Linked DNA regions of Homo sapiens: regions 1 and 2 are each linked to region 3. The links are contacts of gene promoters, found by promoter capture Hi-C in blood cells and fetal thymus (Javierre and others, 2016). All regions are on one chromosome and are shown on one strand. Each heading gives the region's core, a stretch centred on a gene start or on the middle of the fragment in contact. The rest is flanking DNA. Distances are from core to core; before and after follow the strand shown. Region 1 overlaps SASS6 (SAS-6 centriolar assembly protein). Region 2 overlaps TRMT13 (tRNA methyltransferase 13). Region 3 holds the start of MIGA1 (mitoguardin 1).

Region 1 (4,155 bases), core at 1,072-3,571, about 22 Mb after region 3:
CGTATTTTTAGTAGAGATGGGGTTTCACCATGTTGGCCAGACTGGTCTCAAACTCCTGACCTCAAGTGATCTGCCCACCTCAGCCTCCCAAAGTGATAGCAGTACAGGCGTGGGCCACTGCACCTAGACGGTGTTTTACGGTTTTAAAAGTCCTGTCATACTTCATATATTTGCAAAAAGTACAAGAAGAATTCACTTATCAAAGTGTTCTTTACATAATCCTGGAAGAGTTATATTACTATGACAATTTACCAATCATATTAATGATATTGTTGCATATATTCCAAATGCCTATATACATTAGATGTTGAAAGAAAAAACGGAAGGCCTGTAAGTTAAACGAATTCCCCATGCTTAGTTAAAAAACATCCCTAGAAATATGCTGTAGAAAAATACAAGCTTTCAGAGGATACGCTAACTAAAATCACAAATCTTATTTTTTCCCTTATAATGGTTAATGTCATAAGAGCAATATAAAACAATAAAAACTCAATAAAATGTTATTTCTCATCTCAATAGATGTCGTACTCAATAGATGTCTAATACTAATGACATTAGATTTAGTTATGAGTTCTTCTAAATAAAAAGTATTCTAAACATCAGGCTTGCTTTAGCACAACTGGATTCTAGGCCATCTCTGACACCCAGTAGCTGTGCTCTTAAACTATCAATCAAACAAATAAAAGGTACTTTAAGCCAGGTATTGTGCCAGGTGCTAGGGATACAAACAGAAATAAACATGGTCCAGGGGCTTGGCACAGTGGCTCACATCTGTAATCCCAGCACTTTGGGAGGCTGAGGTGGGTGGATCACCTGAGGCCAAGAGTTCAAGACCAGCATGGGCAACATAGCAAAATCCTATCTCTACAAAAAATTTATAAAATGAGCCAGGCATGGTGGTGCATGCCTGTAGTTTCATGTACTCTGGAAGCTGAAGCAGGAGAGCTTAAGACCAAGAGTTTGAGATTACAGTAAGCCATGATTATGACACAACACTCTAGCCTGGGCAACAGAGTGACAGCCTCTCTCTAAAAAAAAAAAAATAATAATTTTTGAACATAGGATGACACAAACAAAACAAAACAAAAAAAACCATGGTCTCTGTCCTCAAATTGAGATGAGATTAATGACTTTTTGCTAGATTTGCTTCTGATTGCATTTTAGGGCTCCATGAGAGGGGAGGGAAGGGTTACCAACACTACTGAGTACCTGCCAGGTATTCTACATATATCATCTTATTTAACAATAATCTTGATAAGTAAATATTATTTATTTTACAAAAGAAGAACTTAAGGCCCAAATAATGGTTTAAGGTCACATTACAGAGCCCAAATGAAAACTCAGATCTTTCACCTACACCACACTATCTAATAACTGAATAATGGCAATTCATTTCAACTTAGGCAACTTTGAAGGGTCCTTATAGTGAAAGGATTTAAGACATACCTGAAAGTTATGAAAGAAAAAAGCATTTGAGGCACAAGGAACAGCAGGGGTAATAGTATAGAATGAGTATCAGGTATATTCAGAAGGTAACAAGAATGCTTGTATGACTTTCATATTGGAGAGATAAGCTTAGGAAACAAAACTGAAAAGGCAGATTAGTGTCAAATCATGGGTTCCAAAATTTTGCATAATTTTCCACCAGATGAAGTTCCCTGATCATTACCACTGTCCTCAACTGAATTTCCTTCTTCTCTGACTTTAGTGTACTTATATTACTTTATGCATTTGTCACACATTAATACCTAAAATTTAGTGAACATTTATTATGCTCTAGTCACTGTTGTAAGCAGTTCATATGTATAATTCATTCCATTCTCATAATACCATGAAGTAGGTACTGTTATTACCATCAACTTAAAGATGAGACACAGAGAAGGAAATTGTACAAGATCTGTCAGTAAGTGGAAGAACTGGGACTTAAACCCAGGCAATCTGGCTCCAGAGCCTGAACTCCTAATCTGTGCTATGGTGCCTGTTCAAGGAAAATCTTATTTCCCCTATTAAAATGTGAGTTCCTTGAGGGACAGAATGAAAAGAGGTTTTTGTTGGCTTTTGTTGTTGTTGGGGACGGAGAGGGGGGTGCGTATTTACATCCTCCACACTTAGGACAGTTCCTGAGACACAGCAGACATTTGCCAGTATTTGTTGAGCTGAACTGGCCTCAAATACTCAACCAAGGCGTCTGGGCTGGGCGTGGTGGCTCACGCCTATAATCCCCGAATTTTGGGAGGCTGGGGTGAGAGGATCACTTGAGCCCAGGTGTTCAAGACCAGCCTGGGCAATACAGGGAGACCCCGTCTCTTTTAAATTAAATTAACAACAAAAAAAAGCCAGGCGTGGTGGTATGCGCCTGTAATTGCAGCTACTCAGGAGGCTAAGGTGAGGGGAACCCTTGGGCCCAGGAGGTCAAGGCTGCAGTGAGCTGTAATCGTGCTACAATACTCCAGTCTGGGCAACAGAGCGAGACTCTGTCTAGAAAAAAAAAAAAAAAGAGAGAGAGAAAGAGAGAGAGTCTGGGTTGTTCTTCCTATAGGTCAAGGATCACCAAATTATTCTGTAAAGGGCCAGATAGCAAATATTTTAGGCTTTGCGGGCCATAAGGTCTCTGTCACAATTACTCATCTCTGCCCTTCCTGTGCAAAAGCAGCTACAATATGTAAACAAATGAGCATGGCTGTATTCCAAGAAAAGTTTATTTACGAAAACAGTGAGCCAACTGGCCCATGTGCTCCAGTTTGCTGACCCCTATTATACAGATAATAGGAATATATTAAAGGTTTCTAAGCAGAGAAATTGAGTTTTTAGATTAACTGTGATGGCAATGTAACCAGAAAGAGACCATCTAGGAGTTTCCATATTGAAACCAAAGTCATGGCCTCCTTTATCTTTCTATAATCATTCTAAAACAGTGTTGTCCAATGGAGATACAATGTAAGCCACAAATGTGAGCCAGGTATGTAATTTTAATTTTTTTCTTTTTCTTTTTTTTTTTTCAGAGACAGGATCTCGCTCTATCACCCAGGCTGGAGTACAGTGGCACAAATAGTAGCTCACTGTAACCTCAAGCTTAGGCTCAAGCAATCCTCCTGTCTTGGCCTCCTAAAGTGCTGGGACTACGGGTGTGAGCCACCATACCTAGCCTACTTTTAAATTTTCTAGAAGTCACATTTTAAAAAGACTTTTAAAAGCAGGTGAAATTAATTTTAATAATACATTGTATTTAACCCAATATACCCAAAAATATTGCCATTTAACACATAATATAAAAATTGACATATTTTACATTCTTTTTTCATAGTAAGTCTTAAAAATCCAACGTGCATTTTCATATGTAAAGCACAACAATTCAGATAAGCCCCATTTCAAATGTCTAATAACCACATGTGGCTAGTGGCTACCATACTGGACAGCATTAAAAGAATGATCAACTAAACCTACAGATCTCCATATGCAGCTGCTGGTTTTGGGACCATCTCCTTGACCGGCTTGCCATTGATTTTTGACCGAATTCTGAACTATATATACTACAGTTTGACATTACTGGCAACTCAATAAGGCAATGTCTTCATTTTTTATGTTACATTTGTACACCACTTAGTTTTCACATACGATTTCACACCTGATCCTCATTACAAACACGTGAATACGCAAAAGATTTCACACCTGATCCTCATTACAAACACGTGAATACGCATGTTATATCAGTTTTACAAATGAGGAAAGAACGTTCAGAGAAAAAAAGAGACAACCATTGAGTGTTAGAACTGAGAAAAAAAAAGTAAGTCTCCTGACCTCTGGTCAAATCTATTTACGCCCCAATAATACCACCTCCTTAATCAAAGTTGCACTTCTCTGTGCGACTGGTCTTTATTTCCTCCAGTGATTGTAAACTCCATGAAGAAAAGGACTGTTTTTCCTGACCACTGTATTCCCAGTGCCCAGTAAGGTGTTTTACAAGGAGGCAATATTTATTGAATGAATTAATGACGTTTCTGCTTTTCTCATTTTTAGTCGGTTAAATGTAATTTACTTTTTTAAAGCAACTGATGTGAAGAGCCAAAGTACGCCACCAAATTGGTAGGTTTTTAAAAGTTGAACTTTACTGCCAACATACTTCAAAAGAGAACGAGGGGGAAAGGCTCGGAGCCA
Region 2 (4,347 bases), core at 773-3,272, about 22 Mb after region 3:
AGATGATGTGGTTTGGGGGGGCCACATAATTGTGTTTGCAGATCTTGCATTACGATGTTTGGTTGAAACCTATGCTGCCAGTTTTGAGGAAAGGAATGAAGAACCTTTAGCCAAACGCATAAAGAATGATAAAACAGAAAAAGAAATTTACACTTTGGCCAAGGAAGGAAATGAAAAAAATGTCCCAGAGAAGTGGAACCCTGTGGCTGGCATTGTTATTGCACTCTGTTGTCACCACAGGTGTGATTGGAGACATTATGTGGGCAAAGAATATTTCAGGGCTCTAGGCCTTGGAGCAGTGGAATTCCATTATTTCCAGCGAATGAGTAGTTGGGCAACTTGTGGGATGCGGAAAACATCTTTGGAAACCTCAAATAGTACCACAAAGAGGCAAGATAATCAGAATGATGATAGTGAAGAGCATGATGATGGAGGATACAGAATCACAGATGATGGCGCTGATTGTTTGCCTGGGTAAGAGACTACTTTTGTAATGCATGATACTAAAGGAGAAATATTATATTGTACTGTACTTTAGATGACTATTATCAACAATTCATGAAAATGTATTTTATAATCTAATTTTAGAATAAGCTAAAATATACACATCTTTTATTGTGGTCATAAATATAATGTGTCTTGGAAGCATGGGACAAAGTACTTAGTACATTATGGGTTAGTTAACAGTCTCTCAATAAATAGTGACAAAAATAATTTTTTATAAACTTTTGCAAAATTTTAACAATGTTTTGTGTGTGTTTATTCAATTTAGGCTTCTTAGTGTTGAAGAAAAGAAGAAAATAGGGCATCTTTGTAAATTGCTGATTGACCAAGGTCGAATCCAGTATTTGCAGCAGAAGGGATTCAGTCCTGCTTTGCAGTACTATACAGACCCTCTGGTGTCTTTGGAAAATGTTTTGTTAACTGCTTTACCAAATCATTCTTCATCACCAGAAACAACTGCTTAATGGAAAAGAAATTTGAGCATCATCTGTCTTCCACCAAAAAAAATTTTTTAATTATATTTTTATATCAAAAAAATATATACTTTAAATAGCAAATAATATGAACTTTAAAAAATGCTGTGGCCTCATTAAACTTTGGTAATAGCTTTTCTTTTTACTTCAGAAATCCAAACATTAGAGAATTCACCAAAGTAATCCTCTTTAGAAGGGCATCTTGAATTATATTATCCATCCGTATTTATGGAGATTGGTAAAGTAGTTGAACCGTTGACTTGGTGATCTGAAACATACATAACATGTCAACACATAATTAGCGTATTTCTGTTTGTATTAATTTTGGAAATTTATCTTCCTTTGATTTTATTTAATATTTTTTATTTCTTAAGTTCAAGAGGTAGTGATTGATTGTAACAAGGGCCAATCTGAGAATTTGACTTATATGTGGACATTTTTCCCTACAGATCTGGAAAGCACAATTGTGATTTTCTCAAATGCAGACAATTCAGAGATATTCACAATTAATAAACACAATTAATTAATGAAGTCACCTTCAAATTTCCAGAGCCATACATGTATATATTGTCAGAATCTGTCCATGACAAACACAAAACTGAAGAGCTGTTTTCAAAGAAAAAAGATTATTTCACTTAATTATTTTGTTGGATAATTGTCTAGTTAGAACTTCCAAAAAGATACTTACAAACATAATTCACAAATTTGAAATAATTTCTGAAGTTGATTAGCTATCTCATATCTTTTATCAGGTCATTTTTTATATATGTAGGCACAAACAATAAGTATGTTCTCTTCTGTTTGGGAAAATAATTTGGAATAAAATAGAAATTAGATAATGAAACCAAAAACCTTCTCAAATTTAGGCCTTATTTAACTCATGACTGGTTTCTATGCACAAGAAAATACTAAACCAAATATATGGTAGGACTGTTATTCTCTTCTGCATCTTATCCCTATTTTGTTTCTGCCTTTATTTGTAAAAATTGTCTTAATTGATGGTACATTTGCCAAGACAAAGGTTCAGAATTACTAATTTTAGATATTATGATATTCTGAAATAACTATTTTTATCCTGTAGTTCTATGATTATATGATTTGTAAATAAGAAGCCTAACCAATTTAAAATTCCTGACTTTAGTCTCATATATCTTGTCAGACTGTCTCGGTTCAAATTCCAAACCTACCATCTTCAGTTGTGCGACCTTGGGCATGCTACCTAATCTCTTTGTGCCTCAATTTCCTCCTTTTAAAATGGGGATGATGATGATAACAATAATACCTACCTCACAAGGTTGTTGTGAGCATCAAATGAGATAACACAAGTAAAATGCATAGAACAGTTCCAAGCACAGAGTAATTCAATAAATATTAACTAGTAATAGTAGTGGTAGTAACTCGTGAATCTTTTTAATAACATAATAGGCTTTGATTTTATTATCTCTTTAAGTTGTTAACTTTTTTCCCTTGTTATAAGTTTTATGTCAAGTAAGGTAGTTTGTTTAAGTTAGTTACCCATGTCCCCAATCAAGGGAACCTAAATGAAGATATATCATTAAATAATTAACCTTTTTTTATTGTGTCAAGCAATACTAATTTGTGTCATAAAATTTGTTTTGCATCATTCAACAATTTATGCCCAGAAATAAACAATATTCTACAACAGGCATAATCTCATTTATGTTTGATAAAATATACATACACACCCAAGAATTATCATACAGAAACAGTTCTGTGGCCCATTTAGCTTAATGGTATGTTTCTGACAATGGTATCAAGTACCTTAAAGGAAGATAAGTTTGTCCTTCAACATGCCAGCCTTAGGTCAGGATTATTGTTTTCCTAACTGTTAATTTGTCTTCACATATCATGAGAAAGTGACTGTGGGATATGCATACAGCTATTTCTTGTCCTGCAGAATTTTCAGATTCAACAAACCTCTTCTTGAACTTCAGATTCACCTGCACAATTACCACAACTTGCATGTTCCACAGGTGCATCAAATTTACTGCTAAGGGCCAGGTGTGGTGGCTTACACCTGTAATCCCAGCACTTTGGGAGGCCAAGGCAGGTGAATCACCTGAGGTCAGGAGTTCGAGACCAGCCTGACCAATATGGTGAAACCCTGTCTCTACTAAAAATACGAAATTAGTGGGGCGTGGCGTGGTGGTGCATGCCTGTAAGCTACTCAGGAGGCTGAGGCAGGAGAATCACTTGAACCTGGGAGGCGAAATTTGCCAAGTGAGCCGAGATTGCACCATTGCACTCTAGCCTGGGCAACCAGAGAGAAACTCCTCAAAAAAAAAAAAAAAAAAAAAAAAGACTGCCAAAATTAGAAATCATCTTCTGCCTCTACCACCTGATTCTATTCGCCAACCCATCTTCTGTACTTCATTCTCCATCTTAGCACCACCATCTATCCAGTTGCCCTCTAAACCAAAAACATTCATTGTAAACTCCCTTTTCTCATCTTCATTCAATTACCAATTCTGTCTCCTAATTGTCTTTATATATTCTCTGCTTTCCAAAACTAGGTCACAATTATGACTTTTTTGCCTGTCTTCCCCCAATCTGTCTCCATGTCATTGCTTCTATGACCTTGCTGCAATAAATCTAATCACCATTTCCTAAACATCCTCCACTGAATGTTAGTAAAAATTATTTCCTTTAGCTGAAAAACTCTGTCATTGTCTTCTCAGTTATATTCATTTTTCAAACTAGTTGTTGCATTAAGTTGAACTAAAATCTACCTTTTAAGTTAAAAATTCTTAACATTTTAAAATTATAAGACTATGATTTCTGTTACTATTGTTTCATTGTTTTTATTAACAAATAATTGTGCACTTTGTCCTCTTCCCCTGATCTTGGTTTAGCTTAAAGGCCCTCAATTAATTATCAGAGACTAAGTGATTGAAATCTCTATATCAAAACCTCACACTTTGTTCATTAAAATCTGTGTTCTCAGCCAGACGTGGTGGCATGCACTGATAGCCCCAGTTACTTCAGAGGCTGAGGTCGGATGATCTCTTGAGCCCAGGAGTTCAAGGCTACAGTGAGCTATGATTGTGCCTTTGAATAGCCACTGCACTCCAGCCTGGGCAACATAGTAAGACCTCATCTCTTTAAAACAAACAAACAAACAAACAAACAAAAAACTGTGTTCTCAATATTTTTCATCCCTAGGTAAATTTTTTTTTCTATTTATGGAATGACAGGGAAGGTCAGTTCATGGTCAAACTGCTATGTGTGGCAAGCTGGTAGAATGAGGTAGCAAAGCTTTAAGAATCATGTCTTCACTCACTTGGTTTTACTTCAGATGCTTAGCCAAAGGATTTATTTCCTTCCCCCACTTGAAAGACTTTGAATATCT
Region 3 (4,318 bases), core at 1,503-4,002:
CTTCCTTTTGGGAACGCCCTACTCTGTCTATAGAGTAAGTGGACATTCACCACTTCACTGTCTTAAACTTGCTTTTGCTTTGGACTGTGGACTTGCCCTGAATTCTTTCTTGTGCGAAATCCAAGCACCCTCTCTTGGGATCTGGATTGGTACCCCTTTCTGGTAACAACATTATGAAGCCTCCACAGAAATCCCTGAAGTACGGGGTTCTAAGAGCTTCTGAGTTGGTGAACACATCCATATCCCAAAAAGGTCATACACCCTGATTCCATGGGGACAGAAGTTCCTGCACTTAGGATCCTTCCAGATCTTGTTTTATGTACCTCTTCATCCGGCTGTTCATCTGTATCCTTTGTAATATCTTCTGTTATAAATCAATAGACTGGTTTGGGATGGGAGGAGAAGATTGTGGGAATTCCTGATTTATAGCTGGTTGGTCAGAAGTACAAGTGACAACCTGGGATTTGCAATTGGTATCTGAAGTGGGGGCAGTCTTGTAGGACTGAGCCCTTAAGGGTTTGGTGCATAGTATTGAATTAAATTTAACTGTACAACACCCAGTTGGTAGACACTAAATTAAAGAGTGGAGTTTATAATAAGAAATAATTGGAGACTTGTTTGGTGGGGAAAAACCTCCACACATTTGGAGTCAGAAGTGTTGAAACTACAGAAAAATAGCTTTGTGTTTCTTTTCCTTTAACAATGCATCTAGTAAGTGGCCAAGAAAGGATTCAAACCCAGGCAGTCTGACTTCACAGTTTTGTTTTGATATTATGCAGATAGGATCCCCTAAATTCATTAATGGTTGCTGTAGCATGTATTGCAGTACTTGTACAGAAGAAACAACTGGTAGTACTCCATGAACTCCATTCTCTGGTTTAGTGAGCATTACACGATGGCTTGGTTATCTGGGGGAGGTACTGGCCTTCAGAATTAATCCAGGCTCCAATTTTTTTTTCCTTGTCTCCAATATCAGAAGACATTGAGTCCCCTGTCCTTCTGGTTTAAACCACTACTTGTTTGGTTTTCTTTTACTTGTAGCGAATATGTTAACTAATATATCCAATAATGGCTAAGATTGAGTGCAGTACTCTGCCAAACCAGAAGAAGGGAGGCTTACAGCAAATTACATTTGGTTTATAAACATAAATTAAATGTGATATTTCTATTTTATATATTTTATTATTATTTTGTAGAAATGAGGGTCTTGCTATTGCCCAGGCTAATCTCGAACTTCTTACCTCAAGGGATCCTCCCTCATCGGCCCCACAAAGTGTTGGGATTACAGATGTGAGCCACCTCACTTGGCCTAAATGTGACATATCTTATTCTCATGCTAAAGAATAAACTCTGTACCCACCGTGTAATACTATTTTTCTCATAATGTTTATTGTGGAATTAAGGAGATAATATGGTCTCAGGAAAGTTGTGTTGAGTGGTAGTCATCATCATTACTGCTATTCTCATTACGTTGAATGTTTGGAAGCTGTGGGAAATGGGAAAGAGGAGGAAATTGGGAAAATAAATGAAAATAGCCTTACAAATTTCAGGTTCTTCAAGTCTCAAGAGCTCCATTTACCCTATAAGTGCAAAATATTTTCACATAAAACCCAGTCTGTGGATCGTTAGTTATTATTAATCTAATAATATCATAAATTGGTACTACTATTCTATTTTCCATTTGGTTAAATGGGAATTTTGAAAACAGAATTATTTTGGCTTTTCACCACAAATATGCTCAGCAACTGGAATTCTTAAATCTGCAGTTTTTTTGTTTTGTTTTGTTTTGTTTTGTTTTTTGTTTTGAGACAGAGTCTCACTCTAGTCACCCAGGTTGGGGTGCAGTAGCACTATCTGGGCTCACACAACCTCCGCCTCCCGGGTTCAAGCGATTTTCCTGCCTCAGCCTCCCGAGTAGCTGGGATTACAGGCAGGTGCCTGGCTAATTTTTGTACTTTTAGTAGAGATGGGGTTTCGCCATGTTGGCCAGGCTGGTCTTGAACTCCTGACCTCAAGTGATCTGCCCGCCTTGGCCCGCCAAAGTGCTGGGATTACAGGCTTCAGCCACCGTGCCCCGCCTAAATCTGCAGTTCTGATGGAATGTTTTGACTGAAGACTGAACGTAGAAACAGTACCTTGGGTTTTGTTGTTGTTATTTTTTCCTAACCCGGCCCCCTATTAGTTTACTATGTATTAGAACCTGAGAGAGGTGACTACTCTGCCAATAAATTGCCACATTCAATATTCTTCGGTTGCCTAATTCAGTGGGAAACACAGAAAAAAAGGTAAAGAGGACATGAAATCAATAATAAATGCATCATCTATACCGGATTGGAATGCCTCTTAACACTCATTCATCTGAGGGCTGAGGGCCTGTGGTAGAAGTTCTTAATCTTGTTTTCAGGGTTTTGAAATTGTGTAACTTTTTTTTCTTTAATGTAATGAGCATGTGTATACACATTTTTTTTTTTCCAGGGGAAACCCTCCATAATTTTTACCAGATTGACAACCGTTCTAGATCCCCCGACAGGTTACGAACTACAATACTAGTTTTTTTTTTTTTTTTTTACCGGTTTGTAAAAGGATGCAATTCTTCGAATATAGTTTTTGCATCCACTTGACGAGGAAGGAGCCTCTACCCTAAACAAAAATGGCGGGAGCTGCTTCACACGTAGTCCCTCACGCAGAAAGCCTGGAAGGCCCCCTCCACTTTCTCTCCACCTTCGCACTCCTGACCCCGGAAGGACTCCGCCTTCTCCATGTCAGACTGCTGCTCAGCGCCAGGCATCAGCTGGGAAGCTGGCGTGGGCAGGCCAGCTGTACCTGGCCTGGAGCTCCAGGTACAGGGCCAGGGGCGGGGTGGGGTGGAGAGGCGGGCGGGAGGAAGCGGAGAGTTGAGCGGCCACGCAGTTGGGGCAGAGGCCTCGGGGCAGGGGTGGCGCGGACTCCATCGCTGGCGTTAGCTCTCGGAGTGCCAGGTGGAGCGGCGGAAAGCCAGAGGGTCTACGGCCGTGCCACCCTGAACACCCCCGACCTCGTCTCATCTCAGAAGCTAAGCAGGGTCGGGCCTGGTTAGTACTTGCATAGGAAAGCAGGAGGGTCCCCACGCCAGAGGGAGGCCTGCAAAGGAAGCGCGGAATTGGGATGGGCTCGCCACTGCTCTGAGCCAGAGGAAGGGTCTGGACGGCCGAGCTGGAGGGACCCCCTTTTCTGGTGTTCTTGGCAAAGAAAAAGGAAGACAGCAGAGGAGAGCTCCGCGAGGGGCTGCTGTGGGGTCGGGGGAGAGCGCGCTGGAGGTAGGGCAGCTGGTGAGGTCTCAGGTTCGGCTTGGATGCGGGTGGTTTTGAGCAGGGAGTGGCTTTTGGATGTGAAAGATTACTCTGCTTTGCAGGTGCTTTAAGAGAATAATTTAGCACGGGAGTATTGTGGTGTCAGGTCCTTCTGTAAAGTTGTTAAATTATCTATTTTCCAGAGGGAAGACTCAGCTTGTTTTTGCACAGGACTTTGAAACCTTTATTATTGTTGTTTTATTGTTGTTGTTATTGCAGCTAAACATGTTTGCTCTGTTCAAAGTGTCAGAGTTAGGTTATATAGATTTGTGCTTCACGTCAATTTTCTTTTTGATACTTCAGACTTTCCTTCCTGTTGGATTATAAAGTCAAAGTTGCAGGATAGAATTTTAAGATGTCTAAGAAACTGTTTATGACACTTATTTTTAATTCCCCAGTAGTTGGAATGTAGAGGAGCAAGTAATATCACACAGGACAATATTTTTGGTTATGTTTTATAGATTCCGTCTATAAATTTGAATAATCATGAAACCCCCTTCATGTTTATTTTTATTATGCTTCTGAAAGCAAATGAAATGACTAGTTTTTTGTTTTTTTTTCTTTAGTTTTTCAATGAATAATGATTAGGTTTGGAATCAACTTCCTCAGTAATATTAAATGAAAAAGAATGAGGTAGTTAGAATGCAAAAATAGAGGTTTGTCATAATATTTTTTCTTTTTTCTTTTTTTTTTTTTTTTGAGGCGGAGTCTGGCTCTGTCGCCCAGGCTGGAGTGCAATGGCGTGATCTCTGCTCACTGCAACCTCCGCCCCTAGGGTTCTAGAAGTTCTCCTACCTCAGCCTTCCGAGTAGCTGGGATTACAGGCGCCCGACATCACTCCTGGCTAATTTTTTTGTATTTGTAGTAGAGATGGGGTTTCGCTATATTGGCCAGGCTGGTCTTGAACTCTTGACCTCAACTGATCCACCCACCTCGGCCTCCCAAAATGCTGGGATTACAGGCGTGAGCCACCACGCCTGGCCGAGGTT

Evidence for each region. The method cuts DNA at HindIII sites, captures the fragments that hold promoters and counts their contacts. A CHiCAGO score of 5 or more calls a contact.
Region 1: a fragment that was not itself captured here is called in contact with the fragment with the promoter of MIGA1 in region 3 in 6 of 17 cell types (naive CD4 T cells, non-activated CD4 T cells, total B cells and 3 more); the score reaches 11.5 in naive CD4 T cells.
Region 2: a contact is called between a fragment that was not itself captured here and the fragment with the promoter of MIGA1 in region 3, in 1 of 17 cell types (total CD4 T cells). The highest score is 5.0, in total CD4 T cells.

What each region holds. Positions count from the first base shown.
Region 1 is chr1:100,128,208-100,132,362 of GRCh38, forward strand. All of the region lies in intron 1 of SASS6 (SAS-6 centriolar assembly protein), which reads right to left. Among named protein-coding and RNA genes, the nearest start is that of SASS6, 2.6 kb to the right of the region's middle. RefSeq lists an enhancer at 2,681-2,730. The HindIII fragment of the contact is 1,498 bases long and covers 1,573-3,070 here.
Region 2 is chr1:100,147,853-100,152,199 of GRCh38, forward strand. TRMT13 (tRNA methyltransferase 13) reads left to right here. Exons shown (of 11, transcript NM_019083.3): 10 at 42-474; 11 at 773-2,644. The coding sequence ends at 968. LRRC39 (leucine rich repeat containing 39) reads right to left here. Exons shown (of 10, transcript NM_144620.4): 10 at 596-1,245. The coding sequence ends at 1,190. Among named protein-coding and RNA genes, the nearest start is that of TRMT13, 17 kb to the left of the region's middle. The HindIII fragment of the contact is 4,457 bases long and covers 1-4,251 here.
Region 3 is chr1:77,776,897-77,781,214 of GRCh38, forward strand. MIGA1 (mitoguardin 1) reads left to right here and starts at 2,753. Exons shown (of 16, transcript NM_001416120.1): 1 at 2,753-2,840. It also overlaps the pseudogene RNA5SP21. RefSeq lists an enhancer at 2,640-2,729. The HindIII fragment of the contact is 6,952 bases long and covers 1-4,318 here.